4 separate regions of the Homo sapiens genome follow, and regions 2, 3 and 4 are each linked to region 1. The links are contacts of gene promoters, found by promoter capture Hi-C in human tissues and cell types (Jung and others, 2019). All regions are on one chromosome and are shown on one strand. The core of a region is centred on a gene start or on the middle of the fragment in contact, and the rest is flanking DNA. Distances in the headings are between cores, read along the strand shown.

Region 1 (2,993 bases), core at 466-2,965:
TGTGAACGGGACGTTTCAGAAGCTTTCCTGTTTCCCTCTCTAAGGCCTGTCAGCTCTAGACTCTGCCTCTGTGCCAGGCTGTCCTGCTTGTTTTCAAGGCACAGGAAGGAACACAGCCGGGCCCTGTTTACGGCCCATCTGACCCTGCACTGGGAGCAGGTCCCAGGCTGCCCAGTCCACACAGGGCTGACCGCACTGAAGAGAGTTGCTCAAAACCTCTCCTCTCCAGCCTCAATGGTTTTCATTGATTCCTGTCTAGAAAATCTTCCCCAAGTTTCACCACCTTTCTGTGCGACCGATCAAAACGCAGTCTGTCTGGGAGCCTCAGGCAGGCGGCTCTAGATCCCCAAAGCTAGCGCTGGGCGAGCTCCCACCTGGAGCGAGGCAAGGGCTCCGAAAGGGCTTTTACAATCAAAAGGCCCCACCTGCCGTGTCCATGGCGGACTCCCAATGCAAACCGTCCCACTTGTCCGTGGGTTAATTCCATCCGACTGCTTCCCAGATCAATCACACGTGGGGAGCCCCCGGGCGGAGGGCGCGGACCCTGGGTCCCGGCTAGGCCAGGGTCGGGGAAGGGTAGGGGTGCCAGGCCGTGCAGCACCAAGCCACCCGGGTGTGCTTCGCGAAAGGGGCACCACTGCCCGGCAAGCAGGGAACACAGATGCCAGGACTGGGGACCCCTGCCCCGCCCTGACACCAGGCCACAGCCTCCGGGGGTGTCCCCTCCCCCAGACCAGGGCAGAGGCCGGCCCCCGCCCCTGCGAAACTGAGCCCAGTAGGGCAAGGGAGGACCAGGGAGGAACCCACACTATTTTTTTCCAAAGTGTGGGACCGCCTCAGTCCGGCAGAGGGGGGTGCAGCGGTGAGCGGGGCTGGGCCCTGGGCACGGACGTTCGTTGGGCTCGGGAAGCTCCAAATTAAACAGCTCCAGGCAGGAAGCCCGCCTTCTCCCAGATTGTCAGGAAGTCCTGATGCAACTTTGCGCTTTTTTTTTTAAACCCGAAAGAGAAAAAGAGATTCGTGCTCCCCCCACCACCGCCGCGGCCCTTCCCACCGGGGCAAACACCGCCTCGCCCGGCGGCCTCCTCTCCGCAGCGCCCCGGCGGAGACGCCAGCCGCGCTATGCCCGGCGCTCGCTCGACCGCCCCCGTGGGCACGCGGTGCCGTCTCCCCCAGCCGCCGCCGCCCTTCCAGCCCGGCCCTGGGACAGGAGCCCCGCCGCCGCCTGGCGCGCTCATGCTTCAGGAATGCGGGCGCCCGGGTCGCGCGTCCCTGGGAATTTCCGCGCCCGCTCGCCCGCAGCCCTCGCCCCGGCCGGCGTCGTCCGGTGTCCAGGCCGTGGGGAGCCGAGACGCAGCCCCCTCCCGTCGCCCCCAGGCGCCCGCCCCCCACTCACCAGCCAGCAGCGCGCAGGGCAGCAGCAGCCAGTACAGGACCGCGCCGAGCACGTGCGGCTCCATGGCTGGAGGGCCCAGGGCCCGGCCCAGACCGAGCGGACGCCGCGGCGCTATGGGGCGGTGCGGGGGCCCCGGGGCCGGCGCGCCATGGCTGACCCGCGGGGACCCGCGCGCCGCCTTCTCCTCTTCCTCCTTCTCCTTCGGCCGCCCCGCCGGTGCCGACGTCCCGGGCCCGCGCTCGCTCAGGCGACCGCCCTGCCCCTCGGCGGAGCGCAGCGCTCGGCTCACTGGGGCCGAGCTGGGCCGGACGGCGGCTCCCGCCCTCCTCCGCCCGCGGGCCTTTATAAGCTCGGCCCCCTCCCGCCCTCCCCGGCGTGCCCGCCTCCGCGCTTCCCCGACGGCCCGGCGCGCCCAGGCACCCCCTCCGCTGTCCCGCGCGGCCCGTCCCGCCTCCGGCCCGCCCTGGTGCGTTGGGGCCTGGAGACCCCCGACTGGCGCTGGCCCGGAGCGGACCCCTCCCCTCCCGCAGTCTTGGCCCCGCGGCTCCGAGCGTGCGCGGCGGTGGGCAGGGGCGCTTCTCGCTGGGTGGGCTGCGGCTGGGGCCCGGGCGCTACATAAGGGGTCCCGGGGCCTCTGGCTCCCCCAGGCAGCGCCCCACGCGCAACTGCACCCCGCGTGCCCGAGCGACTTTCGCTTTGCTCCCCGAGGCGCGAGCACGCAGCGCCCCCTGGGGACCGTGGGGAGGCTCGGAGTTCCCGCGGCGGCCGGGCCTAGTGGTCCCGGAGGGAGCACGCGGGATGCTCGGGTCGCAGCAGTGCCGCGATCCGCGTTGGTCTGACGGGGGCTCGGGGGCTGCTCCCAGCCACGCCGGCCACCGCGCGCGGCTTTGCCCGGGTCGCTCTGGCGTGAGACGGTGAGAGTGAGAGCCACGGCCTGTGCACCTGCTGCCGCGGCGCCCTGCCACGGAGAGGTAGGGTCTGAGTCCAGGGTGTTCGGGACCCTCACCCAGGCCACGTCAGTTTGGCCTTCGTCTGCCCTTGAGATGGGCACAGAAAGAGGGCAAAGGGCTCTACACCGTTTAATTGGGCTCAGTTCATGGCTCTCAAACTCAGCTGCGTAAGGCAGGGAGTGGGGCTGGGGGGACTGTGGCCACTGAGCCTCAAGGCACTGGCAACTCATGAGAGCCCAGCACAAGCCCACACCCTCCAGCTCAAAAAAAAAAAAAAAAAAAAAAGATGGCGGGGCAGTGGCTCAGGCCTGTAATCCCAGCACTTTGCGGGGCTGAGGCAAGGGGGTAGGGGGTCGGGGGATCACTTGACGTCAGGAGTTCGAGACCAGCCTGGCCAACATGGTGAAACCCCGTCTCTACTAAAAATACAAAAATTAGGCCGGGCGCGGTGGCTCACGCCTGTAATCCCAGCACTTTGGGAGGCCGAGGCGGGTGGATCACCAGGTCAGGAGATCGAGACCATCCTGGCTAACACGGTGAAAACCCATCTCTACTAAAAACATAAAAAATTAGCCGGGCGTGGTGGCGGGCTCCTGTAGTCCCAACTACTCGGGAGGCTGAGGCAGGAGAATGGCATCAACCCAGGA
Region 2 (2,969 bases), core at 363-2,862, 320 kb before region 1:
GCAATGCCCCAGGGTGGGCATTTCGCCTGTGTGGATCCCTGGTGTCCCCCTGGTGCCTAGAACAGTGCCCGGTTATACAGTAGGTACTTAATAAATGTGGAGGGCCCAGGCAGAGTCCCATTGGCCAGCTGGGGAGGGGGAGGGGCTTGCCTGCATTGAGAAACCCTGTGTGCTCCCCGGCTTGGCTCCCACCCTGTCCCCAGCCATCCCTGGCCCTGCTGCTGCACCTGACAGCTGCGCCCAGATGGGACTCAGGTGCCATCGCGGCGTCTGTCTGGATAAAGCCGCCTCCTTCAGCTGATCCGAGATCCGGCGCTGATGGAGCGATTAGCGGCGATTAGAGCCCGGCGTGCGGCTAATCCTCCTGCTGAGGGACAGGTGAAGCAGCCATAGGGGTGGAGGAGGGACAGGTGAAGCAGCCATGGGGTGGAGGGTGCCAAGGGGCCCGCCGTGCACGGGGGAAACCAAGGCCACGCAGCTACGATGTCTCCTTGAGGCAGTGGCCCGGCCGCTCCCTCGCTGGCAGAAAGGCTTCCTGTGGAGCCGCCTGGGCTCCCAGTGGGTGCAGGCCAGCTTGCCATTTCCCCCTTCCTGGATTTTATATTTTGAGTGACTCTTGAGAAATGAGATCCTCTGGGAACCCAAAGGCAGGATCCCTGGGGCGGTGTGGATGGTGACATTTCTGGGTGGTTCTGGGACCCCCAGTTGTAGTGATCCTGATGGCGGCCGTGGTTAGACAACAGCTCCGTTACCCAGCCCCGGCAGTTCTGGCATGGAGTACTCTGCAGCCCTGGGAGGGGCGCCTATGACCTCATTCTCCTCAGAGAACTGAAGGCTCAGCGAGGTTGAGTAACTCACCCAAGATCACACAGCATGAAGAGAACAGAAGGGACCCTGGCTTCTGGCTTAGAGTCTAGCCGAGGTCAGAGTCTCCATCCTGGCTGGAGGTTCTGGGGTGTTTGCAGTGGGGGGCAGCCCACGAGCCTCCCAGGGGGCTCACCCGTACCTTTCAGGGAGAAAGGCCAAGCACAGAAAGGGCAGGGGACGGCTGAGGGCCGCACAGCCCATCCTGGCAGTGGGAGGGGATGGGCGGAGGCTGGCCTGCCTCTATTCTTGTTTCTTGGGTTCATTTCATCTGTCCCCAGAAAATAAGCTCCTTTGGTGAGAAAGTTGGTTTCTTTCTAACTTTTGGGTTTGGTTTTGTTTCAATATTCTAAAAGGAAGTCAGCTATTTCCAGTGCAGTGGGGTGTGTATGTGGGGGAGGGGGGTAAATGTCAGCTCCAGTGACCAGCGTTTAAATCCTGCCCCCTGGCCGGCAGCCTCTCAGTTTCCTCACTTGTATCATGGGCATGATCACAGTTCCAGCCTCCTTGGCCTTTGAGGAATTAGGGCAGAAGTGGGTAAAGCATCTGGGGCCCTTGTGCGGCAGGGCTCAGTGAACCCCAAAACGGCGGTGGTATTAATGGGGGGACACGAGCCGGGGCGAGGGTCCCTGGGGTGGGGCCACCTCTCCAAAGCCCTCTCTGCCCGCAGCCCACCCTCCCTGAATCCTACTGGCATTCTTCCTGCACGGTTTTCCGCCAACGGCTACAGTGTGCCGATGACCTCAGTGATGTCACCTAGGGCCTCGTCCCATCACACAGCGGCCAGAGTGGCTCCAGAACATTTGTCCCTGTGATCCAAGAGTCTACCCCTTGTCAGTCCCCCATAGTTGCCACAGTCACCCAGACCAGGAGCCGCAGCAAACAAGCAGGGGGTACAGCATCTGTCCCCATGGCCCTGGTTCTCACACACATCCCAGAGTCTCAGGTCTCAGTTTCCTCATCTGTCAAATAGGGCCGACACCGCTAAGCCTGCCCTGCAGGCCATGGCCAACCCCCCTGAGGTCTCCCCACCCCTCCCAGCGGTGCCCACCCAGGGCTTCTCGAGGAAGGAGCTCAGCACCCGCCCCAGTGACACTTCACTTCTCTGGGCTTTGCTGCCTTTTCCTATAAAATGGGGTGCCAGTCGCCCTCTCAGAGTCCTTTCAAGGAGCTGATGGTGTAGACCGCGAGACCTGCCTTGCAGGGCACATGCGCAGCTGCTCCTGTCATGCTGGGACCTCCGGACCCCGGGCCTCGCAGCTGCCTTGGATCCCCTCCCTCCTCCAGTCACGGGCTCTGGGCTGGCTGCTGGGCGTGTTGGGCACAGCGGGCCCTAAGCTGACCCGTGCCCTTTGTGGCTGGGACCTGAGATGGGGAGGCCCCCACCCCCTAGTTCCATGGCTTTGGGAGGTGGGGGTGGGGTGTTTTCTACTCTACCACCCTACAACGAAAAAGAAGAAAAGAGAACTTGATAAAAAAGGGCGATGCGTGCTGTGCGGTGGAGGAGGTGCTATCGCCGTTATCTATCTGCTTGCTCGAGCTGAGCGGCCCCCCTTCCCCTTATCTCACCCCACCCTAATGCCAGGAACAAAAGTGAGAACACACTCTCAACCCGCACACCCGCGAGCCCCCCACCGCCCCTCACACACCCGCGAGCCCACCGCCCCTCACGCCCCCGCGAGCCCACCGCCCCGACCCACCCGCGAGCCCACCGGCCGCTGACGCACCTGCGAGCCCACCGCCCCTCACGCACCCGCGAGCCCACTGCCCCTGACCCACCCGCGAGCCCACAGGCCCTGACGCACCCGCGAGCCCACCGCCCCTCAAGCACCCGCGAGCCCACCGCCCCTCAAGCACCCGCGAGCCCACCGTCCCGACGCACCCGCGAGCCCACTGCCTGCGGCGCACAGAGCCACCAGATCTAGAGGGAGAGCTGAGCACTCGGGGTGCTCTGAAAGTCATCATCATCATCATTTTGCAAAGAAAGCCCCCAAATAGCCCTCCCTGAAACAAGGCAGCCAAAAATAAGAAGTCGCTCTCAACAGGCCCCCACAGGAGAAAAGAGGCCGGCCTTGGAGAGGGGTTGGGACTTGGGGCCAGGTCCC
Region 3 (3,020 bases), core at 226-2,725, 340 kb before region 1:
GTGCTGCCAGACGGGGATGCTCAGGGCTGGGGCTGCAGAGCCGCTGCCCTGGCCAGGGCACCCTCATGCACCGACCCAACCCAGGCCTGGGACGCACGTGTCCTCTCACAGCGTCGTGCCTGTGAAGGTGGGTCAAAGGGTGAGAGGGCTTCCTTCTCACCCTTCTCTCCATAAGTATCTTGAAGATCCATGGTTTGTTTTGCTCTATTGTTTAGTTTTTACTTGGGTGCAATGTGTACGTCAAAAGTTTTTATTTTGATATTTGAAAGAGACCAAATCAGGCCCAGACCGCCTCTCTGGAAGGTGTTGTAGGCCATTCAAAACGCCTCCGGAGTGTCGCAAACCAAGTGCGGAGGGGCCCTGAGGTTGTACTGTAAACATCATAGTGACTTGTCTTTTCAAATATATTCCCACTATTTTCGCAGAAAACCTCCAGCTGCGTGACGTCTGTCCTCCCGCCGGCCCCCATCCCTGGTCTGCACCTCCCTGAGCCTCAGAACTTGGCTCCCAGGGTGTCTGCGCCAGCTGCCACTCTCGGGCCACCGTGGGCCAAGGGCCCAGCCGGGGCTGCGGGACCTCGTGCAGGACCCAGTGATGCAGCCATGGCTGTGTCCTAAGAACACCCCTTCAGCAGTGGGTGTTCCAGGTTTTCCAGAAAGGGGCAAGCCCACCCCGGCCATCCTCACTGAGGACCTCCCCCGCCCCCAGGAGGAACACACCACCCCTTCAGCAGTGGGGGCTGGCCCAGGTTTTCCAGAAAGGGGCAGGCCCACCCCGGCCATCCTCACTGAGGCCCCCCCTCACCCCCCAGGAGGAACAGACGGGAGGCTGAGGTGCCCTGGCGCCCCTCCCCCACATCAGAAGCAGCCCGGGGGACCCAGGGAGCGATGGGGCTGGGCTGAGGGAGGATAGGCGTGGGGACTGGGCTCTGCCACCCTCGGGCCTCCCCCCAGGCACCCGTCTGGTGTGAGTTTTCCAGCCTTCACATGCCAGGACGCAGCCCTCCCAGGCTGGGGAGCCAGGCCCCCTCACCTACCCAGAGACGCAGCCTTGTCCGCCTTGTCCCCTCCTCTCTCCCACACTCGGGTCCCTGAAGGTGTCCACACGTCCCTGCCTCAAAGCCTGCTCCCTCATGGCCCTTCCAAGCTTCTCCTGAGACTGTCTTCTGGAATGTTCTGTGGAAGTGCCTGCCACTGACCATCAAGGCATCCTCTCATCTTCTTGGCCAATGGACTTGGTCAGCTTTCACCCCTCCCCCAGGTGGGCGCTGGGCCTCCCCTGCTTTCCACTTGTTGCTGGCGGAACTCACACCGTAAGGGCGTCTGCGAAGGGGCCCAGCGTGGGGAGGGCAGCGCCTGTCCTCAAAGCCCTGCTCTCGGGGTGGATGTCGGACACCGTCATGCCAGCTGCAGGGGCTGGGGGCATGGGGAGCTCTAGACCCCAGCAGAACCTGGGCGGGATCTTACAAATGATTCCCAGCGGGGCAGCCACACCTTCCTGCTTGTTAACACACGGAGATCATGAGGCCGTCAGCAGCACTGCCTCAGTCTCCCGCTCTGTTTCCAAAACTTCCTGGCTCCGGGATGGGGTCCTCAGGGAGCAGAGTGGCTCCATTGAGGGAGCCGCAGGGAAGGGGCCAGGGCCGCAGGAAGAGTGGAACCAGGAGACCCTCCCCACCCAGCCTCCTGTGCCCTACAGCGCCCCTCAAAGATCCCAGTGTCCAGGAGACAAGTGACCCTCTCCAGTGAGGGTGGGTCAGAGTAGACCCCTGACTGGGCAGATGAGGAGGCTGCTCAGAGGAGGCCTCCAGCCCTCCCTGCCTCACCAGCCTTGCTTTCCTCCCCTCTTCCACGGGAAGCGGAGCTCCTAAATGAGACACCTTAACCGGGGTCTCACCACTTCCGTCCAAGCACACGGTGCCCCTCTTCCCTGGATAGAGGACAGATTCACCTGCGGCCTGCGGCTGTGGCCCACCCACCCCCACCGCCTCCCCACCCGCCAGGCGCCTGCCTGCAGGGTTCCCTTTGCCAGGAACACTGTTCCCAGGCCCGCACACGGCCCCTTCCCTCCTTTTGGGCCCCTCCCCTCACGCCCGCCGTCCTCTGCCTGGGTGGCTCTCTGCTCGGACACTGGTTTTGGGGTCTTCCCAGCCCTGATGGTGGCAGAGGCCACAAGGCAGCCTGGGCCAGGCCTGCCTGCAGGAGGGGCTGGTGAGTGGGGGTGTGGCCATCTGCCCACCCCCTTTGCTCACATTACCCCCCCACTGTGCAAGGAGCCTGGCTCAGGGAAGCCAGCAGACGCAGCCCCCAGGCGGGGCCTTCTGAACAGGTGCTGGTCTGGCACAGGGACTATACCTGGCGGGTGGCTTCATATCCAGGGAGGAGGCTCCGCAGGAGGCCCGTAGACGGGGGTTGGGGGGAAGGGCATGGAAAGGACCTTGCACCCCGCACAGGGCTCTGAGTTGGTGTTGGGGCAGCGGTGGGTCACGGGGCTGCCTGTCTGGGCTCGGTGTGTGAAAGGGTCCCATGGACTTCATGGGTGGAGACCCTTGAGGTCCCACCAGGTCTGCAGTCTGGGACACCCGCAGTGTGTCTGTTCAGCACAGTGTGTCTCAGGCAGGGCCCCGGCCGGCAGCATCCAGGGCACCCCACTCGGGTCAGCGGCTCTGGGACGGGCTGGGCACTCGCTCCCACCAGCCTCGGGGGCTGACGTTGGAGGGCCGCTGCTCTGAGCCATCTGAGGCCATGCTCAGGGACTGCCAGGAGTGAGCCCTGCCCCTGTCCACTCACCGCTCCTCCTGTGGGGCCTGAAACCACCGTTTGGCTGGAGACCCAGGATGTGGACGGCCCCCGCCTGGCCACCAGGTGGCAGCATTCGCCCAGCCAGGGGGTCCAGCCTCCACCTGGGCAGGGCGGCCGCCTGCAGCCTCCAGAGGCACCGCACCTGCCGACCCCACACCCACTTGACCTGCAAACCACCCACGTGCACACCCGGCACCTCCACACACTAAAGGGGACAGA
Region 4 (2,700 bases), core at 57-2,556, 260 kb before region 1:
CCTTCCCCTCCTATGAGATCAGGTTCTGCCATGGTGATGACCCCTGACGCCAGGCTCTGGGGCTCCCTGCATGGTTTCAGAGGACTGCTCAGACCCTGTGGTGCCTCCAGGGGTCCCAGCCCCATCCCCAGGTGAGAAAGCCTCAGGCCATCGTGGGTCAGGGACCCCCCGCTAAGGTATCCTGAGCACCAACACCATGTTCCCTCCCCCGTGCTGTTCCCCCAACCCGTGCTGTTCCCTCCCTCATGCTGTTCCCTCTCCCCTGTGCTGTTCCCCCAACCCATGCTGTTCCTTCCCTCATGCTGTTCCCCCAACCCGTGCTATTCCCTCCCCCGTGCTGTTCCCTCCCCTGTGCTGTTCCCCCAACCCGTGCTGTTCCCTCCCTCATGCTGTTCCCTCTCCCCTGTGCTGTTCCCCCTCCCCTGTGCTGTTCCCACACCCTGTGCTGTTCCCTCCCCTGTGCTGTTCCCACACCCTGTGCTGTTCCCTCCCCTGTGCTGTTCCCTCCCCTGTGCTGTTCCCTCCCCTATGCTGTTCCCTCTCCATGCTGTTCCCTCCTCTCTGTTTCCTCCCCCGTGCTGTTCCTTGGCCCCCTCGTATCCACACCCTCCCCTCCTCACCCTCCAGGTCTCGGCCAACATCCTGGCACAGCCACCCCCACTCCCCGTCTCAGCCTGTCCCGTGTCTCTGTCGCTGCCCCTCCAGGTGCCTACCTGCTATTTCTGGGCGGCTCCACACTCCAGGACTCACGGGAGATGCAGTTCTGTTCACTGTGTTCCCCACACCTGGCAACAGCTGGTGCACAAGGCCTGCCTGCCGGATAAGGGAGTGAGTGAGTGTGTGACCCAGTGGATGAAGTGGCAGCAGCAAGGCGGCAGGGGTCTCACGGACCTGGCTTGTAGTCGTGCAGGCCTCAGGCCCTCACCTGGGAAGTGTACTCCTTGCATGGTCGAGGGAGACAGAGGCACTGAGGGACCAGCTGGTGCCTCTGTTAAGGTGATGGGGAGGTGGAGGACTTCTCAGGGTGGGCTGGAGGAAAGACGGGCTGGGGCCTCAGCAGCCTCAGCCTCAGCCTCAGCTCCCACCCTCCCGTGAACCTGCTGCTGGCCCACTACCCCGCAGTGTCCTGGGGATGACCAAGCAGCCCCACGGGGCTTCTGCAGGACCGGCCGTTTGGCTCCATGGGCCGGGCCACCCCAGCAGCCCTGCAAGCTGCTTCAGAGCTTCACAGCGAGGTTTGGGAACGGCCTCAGATAAAGTTGTCACAGCGGATGCTGCACAGATAGGGTTTCCGATGGCTATCGGTGCCACCGCAGAATCAAGACACTGACCTCTTTGTTGGGGGAAACAAGGAACATTCTCAGGTCCGCCCGGGGAATTTAAAGTGGCCACTGCTGGTGGGGCCGGCCAGGGCCCAGAGGAGGGACAGGGCAACCCCAAGGGGCGGCAAACAGGGTGGGCTCTAGCGTCCTCCGTGGACCCTGGACACACCTGCCTGACCAGGCTGGGTGCCGAGCCTGTGGCACCCTGGGAGGGAAGATGGCCGCAGCACCCACATCTCTGAGAGTCTTGGCAGAAGGGCCTGGTTTGGAAGTTAAAAATAGGCCCCCTCCCAAGGCCAGGCGCGGTGGTTCACGCCTGTAATCCCAGCACTTTGGGAGGCCAAGGCGGGCAGATCACCTGAGGTCAGCAGTTCAAGACCAGTCTGCCCAACATAGTGAAACCCCGTCCCTACTTAAACTACAAAAATTAGCTGGGTGTGGTGGTGCTTGCCTGTAATCCCAGCTACTCGGGAGGCTGAGGCAGGAGAATTGCTTGAACCCCGGAGGTGGAGGTTGCAGTGAGCCGAGATCATGCCATCGCACTCCAGGCTGGGGGACAAGAGTGAGACTTCATCTCAAAAAAAAAAAAAAAATAGGCCCCCTTCCCCCTTGCTCCCCAGTGCCCACAGGCAGAGCAGGGTCAGGAAGGGCCTGCAGCACCAGAGAAAGGGCTTCTGTTCCAGGCTGATCAGAGGTGGGGAAACAAGAAGAGACAGAAAAAAATCAACAGGCAGACCCGTGCCCGGCCAGCCCCTCCGCAAGGGAAGCAGAAGCTGAAATTGGCTTCCTGCCCCAGCGTCTCCTGGCCGCGGCCCCAGCAGTGGCTCCCAGGATGGGCGGGTGGCCCCGGGCTGGCTTCAGGGGTCCGGCCACTTGGCACCGGGCAAGACCCTGGTTCAGGGCTGGCCGTGTCCATGCCACCTCCAGGCTGGGGACCCTGGTGGCCCCAGGCGAGGCTGTGCTCACCTGTCCCCTGAGAGGTGTCAGGGTGGCCCCTGCATCCTCAGCAGCCAGGGCAGACTGGCAGGGAGGCCCTCACCCCTTCCCAGCCTGTGGTCGCAGAAGTAGGAGCGGCAGGCCCCTCTGAGAGTGTTTGGCAGTGGGGGCCGTGGCAGGGTGGCCGGAGCTGCTTATCTTGCACCCCTAGGTCTCCTACCTGTTCCCTCCCGGGTCGGGGGCGGGTGCCGGATGGGAGCCTCACCCTCCTTCCCCCTGCCCCTCCCCACCCGCACAGCCAGGCCAGGCGCCCCGTCGCGCCCCACATACGCGGGGTGCACTCGGCGGGGCCGGGCGGGAACATGGCGCCTGCCCTCCACTCGGGACCGCCACAGAAAAATCGGGGGTGCGTGCAGCGTCAGCACAGTTGCGGCGCGTGTTT

Evidence for each region. Contacts are between HindIII fragments. The study calls those that stand out against the background at their distance.
Region 2: a fragment that was not itself captured here is called in contact with the fragment with the promoter of PIEZO1 in region 1 in 1 of the 25 tissues and cell types used here (spleen).
Region 3: a contact is called between a fragment that was not itself captured here and the fragment with the promoter of PIEZO1 in region 1, in 1 of the 25 tissues and cell types used here (lymphoblastoid cells).
Region 4: a fragment that was not itself captured here is called in contact with the fragment with the promoter of PIEZO1 in region 1 in 1 of the 25 tissues and cell types used here (lymphoblastoid cells).

What each region holds. Positions count from the first base shown.
Region 1 is chr16:88,783,505-88,786,497 of GRCh38, forward strand. It overlaps PIEZO1 (piezo type mechanosensitive ion channel component 1 (Er blood group)), which reads right to left and starts at 1,716. Exons shown (of 51, transcript NM_001142864.4): 1 at 1,397-1,716. The coding sequence starts at 1,460. RefSeq lists silencers at 545-864, 1,365-1,844, 1,885-2,214 and an enhancer at 947-1,860. The HindIII fragment of the contact is 3,328 bases long and covers 1-1,909 here.
Region 2 is chr16:88,465,513-88,468,481 of GRCh38, forward strand. The region is part of intron 1 of ZFPM1 (zinc finger protein, FOG family member 1); the gene reads left to right. Among named protein-coding and RNA genes, the nearest start is that of MIR5189, 1.9 kb to the right of the region's middle. The HindIII fragment of the contact is 7,946 bases long and covers 1-2,969 here.
Region 3 is chr16:88,440,325-88,443,344 of GRCh38, forward strand. It overlaps ZNF469 (zinc finger protein 469), which reads left to right. Exons shown (of 3, transcript NM_001367624.2): 3 at 1-429. Among named protein-coding and RNA genes, the nearest start is that of ZFPM1, 11 kb to the right of the region's middle. RefSeq lists an enhancer at 2,799-3,020. The HindIII fragment of the contact is 6,107 bases long and covers 1-3,020 here.
Region 4 is chr16:88,521,308-88,524,007 of GRCh38, forward strand. All of the region lies in intron 4 of ZFPM1 (zinc finger protein, FOG family member 1), which reads left to right. It overlaps ZFPM1-AS1 (ZFPM1 antisense RNA 1), which reads right to left. Exons shown (of 4, transcript NR_148997.1): 3 at 714-813. Among named protein-coding and RNA genes, the nearest start is that of ZFPM1-AS1, 8.4 kb to the right of the region's middle. The HindIII fragment of the contact is 5,029 bases long and covers 1-2,700 here.